Regions from separate parts of the Homo sapiens genome. Here region 2 is linked to region 1. The links are contacts of gene promoters, found by promoter capture Hi-C in human tissues and cell types (Jung and others, 2019). All regions are on one chromosome and are shown on one strand. Each heading gives the region's core, a stretch centred on a gene start or on the middle of the fragment in contact. The rest is flanking DNA. Distances are from core to core; before and after follow the strand shown.

Region 1 (5,381 bases), core at 2,066-4,565:
GCACCTTTGATCCATTCCTGCATCCTGCTGAGGCCTTCTCCTTCCTGAGCATGCTCTGGTCACAGCCTCTGCAGGCTGGAGGCCAGGGGCAAAGGAAGAAAGACTCAATTCTCTTCCAAGACTTTAGTAACAGGTGTGGGATTGGCAAATGTGTAGAGAAGGAGAAAAGACACAGTTATACCGAAGGGGAGATTGGGGTTTGGTTTGTACTGCTCATAGCTAACTTTCATTGAGCATCTGCTATACACCAGATACTGTGCTAAGTCCTTCCTATACATTAATGCAAACTCCATGGAGCAAATATTAATCAGCCCTGTTTTGTAGACGAAGAAACTGAGGCTCATACAGGAGTGGTCATTTGGCCAAGGTCATATGGCTAATAAGAGGCCAAATCACCTCCATCAGCTCCATGTACAACCATGATCTTTGTAATGACCCAATGCAGTGTGAACTGTCATCCACTGTAAACCGAACAAGCCTGCAAAAGAACCCTGAGACCTTGGGAAAGAAAAGCAAGCTTCCCTGCAATGGTATGTGATCACGCCTGGGGAGTAGAACTTTTTCAAACCCTTTCTGCTTAACACTAACCATTGAAAATATTTCTGAAAGGCATTAGCCTGCAGGCCTGCTTTAGAAAAGATGACATGGAGAAAAGGTTAGACGGCTTTTGAAAATCTTTTTCTTTCTTTTTAAATGGAAACTCGATATCTGTTTGCTTCCTTTCTGTTTGCATTTTTCTCTTGAAAGCAGTGTGCCTTCAGAATTTATAGCTGTTTGAGGGATTTGGTTATATTTGGGTCTGACCTGAGACTCCGGTGTGATTGCAGGCATATGTGGTCCGCAGTATAGCAGCTGTTACCTCTCCTGATATCATGGCACATGACTGTGTCATGATAAACTCCCTCCATTCATTTTCTGTAGTGTCCCCCAGGGATAGGAGAAGGAATCAAAGCAGATCAGTGCCTCAGAGGAAGGACAAGGGATCCCCAGGCCATGTGGACAGCATGTGACAGATGCCCCCCTTTAGGTTTACCTGCTAACCAGACCTTGGCTTCTTCCTTAGAAAACATCAGGTAGCCTTTTGAACAATTCAGTTAGTAGGACCACCAAACAAAAAGAAGACGAACATGTTTTCATAAGAGGGGGAGGACGCACTGAATTCCATCTTACCAGGATTTGGTCTCTGTCAGCTGAGATGAGGGACAACTATAATTTGATTCTGGGCATTCCATAAATCACTAGAGTTAGAAACATTTTTGGGTAAAAACTAAAAATGTGTGACCCTCTAGTCATCTTCTCTTTCACATCTCAAGCTTTCAATAACTTAAAGGCTGGTTGGGGCTGTGTGGCTGTAAAATGCTCTTATTAACGGATAATGAACGTAGTATATCTGGGTGATAGCTGTCAGTGAAGAGGGGAGGGAGAGAATGCAGCCTCTGCAAAGCTCTTGAGAAGCGTGGCTTCTGCTCTAGCCCTGGAAATGCTGAATGAATGCTGCCTTTCTGTGTACGAGCTGCCTCCCTGCTTCCCAAATGCCGCGTCTGCAGTAACTACAAACTATTTTGTATGCTGCATTAGTGACGCTGCCTTAGCCGACACATCATTACTACTGAAATAACGCCGGTGTGATATTCAAGCCCAGTGAATATCCTTTTTAATTATTAAACCGAGGCTGTTGAGTGAGTCATTCCTCATACCAGATTTTCCTTCCCTGGTTCTATTTCCAGAAGCTAGTGCCTTAGCGTGTTCTACTAACACCTGAGTTGGTTTTTAGCCAGCTCCCCAATCTGCAAACCCTTTGCAGAACAAACAATATTATTCAATCTCCGAACACGCACAGACTGCATAAGAAACAAAACCCACAAAAAACTTTAGAGTAAGCTCATCAGTAAACCCAAGGTCCAAAAATGCCCAGTCCCCCTGCTGCTAGTCCCCAACTTACCAAGCGGTAGAGCGATGAAGAAGGGTAGCCAGCACAAGATGAACATACCGACCACAATGCCCAACGTCTTAGCTGCTTTCTTTTCCCTGGAGAACTTAAAAAGTTTGACAGCTATGGAACTCCTGGGGTTGTGGCCCTTGGCCTTGGTACTGCTAAGGGTGTCCTCGTGAAAGTTCTTGGAATGGATCCTCAGGGTCAGCTCCTTGGAGTTGGACATCTCCTTCATGACTCCTGCCTCTAGGTTCTTGGTGGTTCTCTTGGCCACTATATAGACACGGCAGTACATGACTAGAATGACCGCCAGAGGGATGTAGAAGGAGCCCAGAGAGGAGAAGAGGGCATAGAAGGGTTCTTCGGTGACCCCGCACTCCTTGTCATCGTTGGGTGCCGGCTCCTTCCACCCAAGGAGAGGCCCGATGGAGATGACGGTGGACAAGACCCAGACACTGAGCAGCGCCAAGATGGCCTTCCTCCGGGTGACCAGCGTGGGATACTGCAGAGAGTAGCGCACCCCGATGTAGCGATCGATGGAGATGGCGCACAGGCTCAGAATGGACGCTGTGCAGCACAGGACATCCACGGCTGCCCAGATGTCACAGAAGATCCGCCCCAGCACCCAGTAGCCGAGCACCTCTAGGGCCGCTGAGAAGGGCAGGACGGTGAAGCTCAACAGCAGGTCGGCCATGGCCAGGTTGACAATGAAGTAGTTGGTGGGCGTCCGCAGGTGCCGGTTGCAGGCCACAGACAAGATGACTAGGATGTTGCCCACGATGGCAAAGAGGATGAAGGCGCCCAGCACCAGGCCCACAGAGATGGCCCTGGTGATGTCCAGCTGGGGCAGTGTGGAGTTGCTCGAGGTCTGGTTGGGGCCAGTGAAGTTGGCATTTTTCAACTCTCCCCAGTGGGCAGGTGCTGATGTGTTGTGGCCGGTGTCCAGGTCGGGATTCATCTTAGAGTCCGCCCTCCATAGCCAGGGGGATGATTGGGCTCGGAAGGGCTGCGGCGAAGGCTCCTCAGCTGCCCTGAAACTTTGCTTCCCCCGTGGTCTTCTTCCCAGAGGCGCCCTCCTGGCGAGGAGTCATCTCCCCCGGGCAGCCCAGCCCGGCAGCACGTCTCCTGCCTGCACCGAGTCGCTCGCTCGCCTGTCAGAGGGAGGAGGAGGAGGAGAGGGGACGAGGCGGCAGCTCCAAGTTTAATGGTCCACGTCAGGCGCGCCTGGCCGGGCTCGCGGGGGAGCGGCGGGGAGGAGGGGGCGGCAGGGCCGGGGGCGCCCGGCGGTGCCCAGCTCGCTCGGGTCTGCGGACCGCGGCGCGTCCTCCGCCCAGCGAGCGCCGAAGAGGGTCTGCTTTCAATGAGCCGCTTCTGGGCTGACTGCACGGCGGTGACATCAGGCGGGGGAGCCCGGCGCCCTGACTCCGCGCGGCACTAGGGGGCAATGCGGGTCCAGCCAAGGCGCCCGCAGCCCCGACGCCGCCACCCCGCAAGCCGGGAAGCCAGCCGCGTCCCCCGCCGCTCCCAGGGCGCGCCCTCTGCGGGGGGCGGGGCGGGGGCAGGGGCCGCGAGGGCGGGACCTGGGCGTGGAGATCGCGGGTCACCCACCCCTAGGCGGCCCGCTGGGGTTATTTTCCCCGCTAGTCACTCTTCCGTGTCAAAGGTGGGTTGGGGGCTGCTTACCTTTAATAGGGGGCTCCCGGAGTGGGCCCCGGATTTAACGGGATATGCAACTTGTCCAGCACCTAAAAGAGGGAAAGAGAATTCTAGGATTGGGCAGGTGGGAGGGACTTGAGTCGGATCTGAGGCCAGCCCTCATCCTTCATCTGGCTCCCCTCGCCCCGTGCAAACTCTTTGGCCCCAGTAAAATCTGGCTTCTCTTCATCCTTTCATTCGCTCAGGCATTCACTCATTTATTCAGCCGATTCTTACGGAGTCTCCACTCTCTGCCCTGGCTCTGGGCGCTGTGAACATAGCAACTGAACAAAATAGACGGACTCCTGCCCTATAGGAGCGTAGCTTCTCCCGACAGAAGACAGACAGTATACTAAATAAGCAAATGATGAGGTGTGTAATGTGATGACAGGTGTTAGGCTGAAAATAAAGTAAGGAGGGGGAAATGCAGTGGGGTGTTTGTGGGGTGGATTTGAAATGTTAAGTGGGTGCTTGGGATGTCACTGAAGTGATATTTGAGGAAACATGAAGGGAATTGAGGGAGGAAGCTAGCTGGCTATCTGGGAGTGGGGGTGAGGGAGGTCAGAGACCTGGGGAAGGGACGTAGAGGATCTTGGTTATTTGTTGAGTTTTTTCCTTTCTGTCTGATATCCATGTTGGACATTCAGTCACAGGGACGCACTCCCAAAGGTGGGTGAATGGTACTTAGAAGAGAAAGTATGGGCCAAGAAAGAAAGAAAGAAAAAGCCAAAGAACTTTATGTTAGTTCACATTTATCCAACATTTATTTTGTCCTAGACAGTGTGCTGAGTTCTTTTTGCATTTTCTCATGACTCTCATGAGAGAAAGAATACACTCTTCACCATTTCTATTTCATGGATGAGACACCAAATTATGGGGAAGTTTAGCTGTTCGCCCAAGTTCACAAAGGCATGGAGGAGAGCTGCTGGGAACTGAACTCAACTGTGGGGTCTCTCCCAAAGTTGGGTACTCAGCTACTGTGTCATACTTTTCCCCCGGGGCAAGGTAGGGGATGGAACCACTGTTATAGATGGAGCTGCCTTTTGAGTAGTTAATTTTGGGGCCTGAGCCACTGGTGCTGGGCAGGGACTCCCATGAATTGAGCGCTTACTGATAGCCATGCATTTACTCAGTTTCTTTGAGACTTTACAATTCTTTGAGAGAAGCATAACCATTGTTCATTGAGAGATGAGAAACAGTGGTTCAGAGAGAGTCAGTTGATTCCTGAGGTCATAGGCTAGCAAATATATGGCAGAGCAATGGGCAGTGGCAGCTGGAGATTGAAAAGTAAAGCCTGATACCTTCTTTTACTCCAGTTCACAAGCCTGCATCTTGGGTTTCTCACCTTCTGCTCTTGATACTTGTTATAACTTGATATTCACGGGTGGGGAAAACAGAAGTCACTCAGGATGACTTACATCTAAGCTTCTCAACCTAGAGGTAAGCTCTTAACCTCTTTTTATTTTTATTTTTTGAGAAGGGAGGCAGGTGGTTATCATACACGTATCGAAGGTTTTAATTTACTCCCAGCAAAGTGCACAGACTCCACACATGTGCAAAATACACAATTTCAGGGGGTTTCCCTCGGGTTAAGAAATCTGTGGTAGAGACAGTCCTGAAAATGGATTATTTTCTATTATAATTAAATTGCCCTAAGCTGTATTTGAAGATTTGATAATAAGAGATTCACAAGTTTATAGTGATTTAGATCTTCAGAAGCTCTCAGAACCTTGGTTTGCTTATCTTCCTGTGT
Region 2 (5,381 bases), core at 848-3,347, 110 kb after region 1:
ATTTATCTGACTTCCAAAGTATTTCATTATCATTAGAAATATTCATTTTTAATATTTTAATTTAAAAATATTAAAAATATTTTTCATTTATCTATTTCGATTTCCTACCTTTACTTTATTGTGAGTATTTTTTCTCTTATCTCATTTAGCAAGGTTATACAGCATTGAAGTCCTTGACTGAAAATTCCAACATCTGGCTCATTTTAGAGCTTGGTCATCCCTAGAGAATGATTCACATTTTTTTTGGTTCTTCATTTGTTGAGTAATTTTGAATCGTATACTAGATATTGCAAATGAAACATTATAAATACTGAATTCTTCTTTTTTAATTATACTTTAAGTTTTGGGGTACATGTGCAGAACATGCAGGTTTGTTACATAGGTATACCTGTGCCATGGTGGTTTGCTGCACCCATCAACCCATCACCTACATTAGGTATTTCTCCTAATGTAGATGATGCTATCTCTCCCCTAGCCCCTCATTCCCAGACAGGCCCCGGTGTGTGACGTTCCCCTCCCTGTGTCCCTGTGTTCTCATTGTTCAACTTCCACTTATGAGTGAGGACATGTGATGTTTGGTTTTCTGTTCCTGTCTTAGTTTGCTGAGAATGATGGTTTCCAGCTTCATCCATGTCCTTGCAAAGGACATGAACCCATCCTTTTTTATGGCTGCATAGTATTCCTTGGTGTATATGTGACACATTTTATTTATCCAGTCTATCATTGATGGGCATTTTGGTTGGTTCCAAGTCTTTGCTATTGTGAACAGTCCCACAATAAACATACATGTACATGTATAAAGACCGAATTCTATTATATTTCTTGCAGGAGGGTTGATGTTTTTGTTTTAGCTGACAATTAACTTGGTTTGACTCAAAGTGTAAACTCTTGCCTGTGATGGCTGGCAGCTTAAATCTTGTTTGGTTTTAGCTGCCATAGGGTACACCCAGAGACTTGGGCAGGGTTTTAAATAGAATTGTGAGCACCCTTTTCTGGACCTCTCTTTTCTGGGATTTTTTTCTTACTGGCCAGTGGCTATACTTGCCCAGTCTCTTGTATTCTGGTTCTTCTGGCTAGAAAAATGGTGGATTTTCTTTGGAGTTTTAGCTGCTTCATGTTGTACTACTATTGTGGTCTCACCTAAGGCTAAAACTACAAAAACTAGAAACTCACTCTGTACTGGTCCCTTCCTTCAACTTTTAATTTTCCTCCAAAATATGTCTGCTTTTGTTCATTTTCTGTGGCCTTCTGATGGTTTTTCTCCCCTCACATGTTCTCCAGAGTTTATAGTTGTTTACAGAAGGGTCAGTCTGTTAGCAGTTTAATTTACCATACCAGAAATGGAACTCTGAATGTATTAACTCTTTATACATATCTCAAACTGTTTGAAAGAATCTAAAACTCCTGAATTTATGCTATGGGACATCAACTTTATAGCATATTATGCAGTCACTAAAAACAATTTAGACCAAATAGCAACGAAGAAACATACTTATGATTAAATAACATTTGTATGCTACCAAATCATGTATTCACTTTCATTGCAGCTGTGTAAAAATTCGTGAGTATATGTAAACAAGAATTGGAAGGAAACTTGGAAAAGAGTAAAAATATTTTTTATTTTAAACATAGTTCCTATTTTTCATCTTTTAAAAAAGCAGTTCTTTTATTTGTGCAATAAATTTCAATGCATTAAAAATAATTAACCAAGAACTAGGTAATCCCAGTTCACAGATTGCCTTTTTATTTTGTTGATTGTTTCCTTTGCTGCTCAGAAGCTTTTATGCTTGATGTAGTCTCACTTGTTTATTTTTTTAAAATTTTTTTTATTATTATACTTTCAGTTCTAGGGTACATGTGCACAACGTGCAGGTGTCACTTGTTTATTTTTGCTTTTGTTTCATGAACTTTTGGTGTCATATCCAAAAAATCATGGCAAAGGTCAATGTCAAGAAGTTTTCCCCTTTGTTTTCTTCTAGGAATTTTATGGTTTCAAGTCTTACTTTTAAGTCTTTAATCCATTTTGAATTGATTTTTGGTAGGTGTAAGATAAGGTTTCAGTTTTGTTCTTTTGTATGTTGGTATTCAGTTCTCCCAACATCATTAATTAAAGAGGCTATCCTTTCCCCTTTGTGTATTCTTAGTGCCCTTGTTGAAAATTAGTTGACCTTGTATATTTGGGTTTATTTCTCTTTCATTGGTCTATGTGTCTATCTTTATTTCAGTACCATACAGTTTTGATTATCATAGCTTTATAATTATTCTTTTTAATGCTATTGTAAATGGGATCATTTTCTTGATTTTCTTTTTTGGATAAGTAGTTGTTGATGTAAGGAAATGCTACTAATTTTTGTACAGTGATCTTTGTATCCTGCTGTTTTACTGAATTCATTTATTAGTTCTAACAGTTTTTTTTTTTTTTTTTTGGTGTGGAGTCTTTAAAGCTTTCTACGTATAGAATCATGTCATCTTTAAACAAGGATTTTATTTCTTCCTTTCTGATTTGGATGTCCTTCATTTCTTTTTCGTCTCTGATTGCTCTTAAAATTAGATTCAAATATTATAATGAATTTTGAACAGAAAAGGGAGATAAATTCTGATTCTGGCTGTTGAGTGAAGTCACTGTGCTGAGGCTTGCAGTAGAGGGGTGGAGAAGCAGACACCAGCCAGGTTTGGAAACCACATGCACTTTGTGGCTTGGGACTTGGAACACATCCCCTTTCCTCTGAGGCCAAGTCCTCTGCCCTTATGAAAAAATCTAACTTCCTATTTTAAAGACAAGTAGCTCAGAGCAACTCCGAAAGTCATAGACTTTAAATGGCCTCTACGAAACATGGTGGTAAGTTTGGGAAGTGAATCAGAAACAGATGAATTAAATTTTGCCTGAAATTACATAGAGATTTTAACAGACAGAGAAGAACATTCTTAAGAGAAGAAGCATGTTTTGGCATTTCTTACTCAAATCCCAAACATTTGAGAGATGCCTTTGAATAATTTCATTAAGAGAAAAAGCAAAACAAACAAAACAACCCTCTTGAGACTCAGAACTTAAAAAGTAGGCTGAATTATAATGTCTTTTCCATAGCTTATCTCCAACCACATTTTCCATATAGCAGAATATGTTCCTGGTATAATACTACCTCAGCAGAGATCAAAGGAAAAATCAGGGCCTGTATTCAAGATCTGTCCTCTGCCATTTGTCACCTCTGGGAATAAGGGAAGTTGTTTTAGTTGCATGAGCTTAGTTTTCTCATGTGTAAAATGGTCTATTATATCTTCTTTGCAGAGTTGTAGATAAGAGATAAAACCCACAATATCACTGTTTAAAATTTCCAATTCATAGCTAACCCTTGATAAGGCCCTGGAAATTATTATTACATTGTTAAATAAATCTGCTTATCCAACATGGGGTTTTTCTTTTTAACATGTAGTAGTAGTTATAAAACTTAAATTACTATTTAATTTATTGTTTGCATTAGAAGAAGAGAGAAGTTTAGGATTCAGCTACAGAATTGGCTAAATATGCTATTTTAAAATAATCAAAACTGGGTTCAAATTCTGCCTCTACTACATATTGACTATATGACATTGTGAAAGGAATTAACTTCTCTGAGCCTCATTTTTTTTTCATTTATAAAATGGAAACAGTAGTAGCATTTACCTCTTAGTGTAGCTATGAAGAGGAAATGAAACAATGGATATAAGTTGCGTGACATGGCACTTTCATGTAGTAACTGCTCATAAAATGGTAACTATCATCATTATCATCATCAATGGTATATTAGTGGCAAATATTCCCTCATTTCTTTACTCCTCCCTACCTTATATCCTAATCCACTTAAATACCAAAAATCACCATCTAAAATCATGGAACTATCCTGGATATTTAGCTTTTTTCTTTATTTTCTTCTTAGGTCAACTCTACTTCATGTTACTCTTCAAATTTGCCCCCAGGAAGCATTTGCAGCTACATTTTTGCTGGAGAGACAGTGTCTAGCCATAGATTCATTTCAATTAAATTAATTACTATCCTGGAATTGCAGGGTTTTGATGTCATAGTGAATGATCACTGAATGAACCAATTTCGTGCTTCTTAACTTGAAACCTGGGATTCTTGGGCCATGATTCTACAAAAGGAACAGACGACTCTAGGTACAAATTTACATTCTATATCTCCTTGAGGAGAAGTCTGTTGGAAGTAATTACAGCACGTAAGTCCTGGAAGACACCTTGGAGGCAATCTTTTGACAGGTGTTTATCGATCACCGGCTCTGAGCCCAGTATTGTGCTAAATGCAAGGAATAAAAAGAAAAATGTCTAAAGTACAGTTAGGGAGCTCACAATGACCTTAGGGAGCTCATAATGCAATTAGAGTATAAAGGCTACTGAAATGCAAAATTTTCCCAAAGGAGTAATATCTTAAGAAGATATTAATTAACTTGTCCTAAGGAACACAGAAGAGAAAGATCTAGTGGTGTTTTCCATGAATTATCTCATTTAGTTTTTACAATTTCTTCTGACACATGCACTTTATTATCTTAATTTAACAGATAAAGAAACTGAGACCCAGAAAGTTTATATAATCTCTTCCACTAAAAAAGTCAGACCCAGATAGAAATGATCCTTCTATTTTACAGAAAAAAAAGCAGAACAAGCTTTTCCACTTTGTCTATCTGTAAAATGGGTTAATAACTACTATCAAGCAAGGAACAAAAGAGACAAAGTGAGATCCTCTATAAGAAATATGTTTTTGGCTGGGAGCGGGGGCTCATGCCTGGAATCCCAGCACTTTGGGAGGCCGAGGCGGGCGAATCACGAGGTCAGGAGTTTGAGATCAGTCTGGTCAACATGGTGAAACCCCGTCTCTACTAAAAATAAAAAGTTAGCCATGCGCGGTGCTGGGTGTCTGTAATCCTAGCTACTCGGGATGCTGAGGCAGGAGAATTGCTTGAACCCAGGAGGCAGAGGTTGCAGTGAGCAGAGATCACATCATTGCACTCCAGCCAGGACAATAGAGCAAGACTCTGTCTAAAAAAAAAAAAAAAAAGAAATACATTTTTTTCTGTGACTGAAATCCTAAAAAAAGTTACAGTTTATACTCAGTTCTAATTGCTAAGCTCTTTCCTCTTCCTGTAGCAACTTCCCTAAATCAAGTTGGCTTGTAAAAGAGTACTCTGAATGTAGTAAAACATCATCTCACTTCACATAAAACACCATCCAGGCTACGTGCAGATCATTTTTCCAATAATGTTTTGTGACAAAAATCAACAAGTTTCTTGTTGGAACATCTTGGTCATTAAAAATACATTAACAGCTCATTATTCAAGACACTGTACTAATTCTACTCATTTCCTGTTGAAGCTTATTAAATACTAAGAGCC

The links. Contacts are between HindIII fragments. The study calls those that stand out against the background at their distance.
Region 2: a contact is called between a fragment that was not itself captured here and the fragment with the promoter of ADRA1B in region 1, in 4 of the 25 tissues and cell types used here (H1 embryonic stem cells, IMR-90 fibroblasts, hippocampus and 1 more).

The regions. Positions count from the first base shown.
Region 1 is chr5:159,914,416-159,919,796 of GRCh38, reverse strand. ADRA1B (adrenoceptor alpha 1B) reads right to left here and starts at 3,315. Exons shown (of 2, transcript NM_000679.4): 1 at 1,943-3,315. The coding sequence starts at 2,891. RefSeq lists enhancers at 2,125-2,741, 2,742-3,358 and a silencer at 3,422-3,481. The HindIII fragment of the contact is 5,190 bases long and covers 916-5,381 here.
Region 2 is chr5:159,802,616-159,807,996 of GRCh38, reverse strand. All of the region lies in intron 2 of LINC01847 (long intergenic non-protein coding RNA 1847), which reads left to right. Among named protein-coding and RNA genes, the nearest start is that of LINC01847, 66 kb to the left of the region's middle. The HindIII fragment of the contact is 5,822 bases long and covers 1-5,008 here.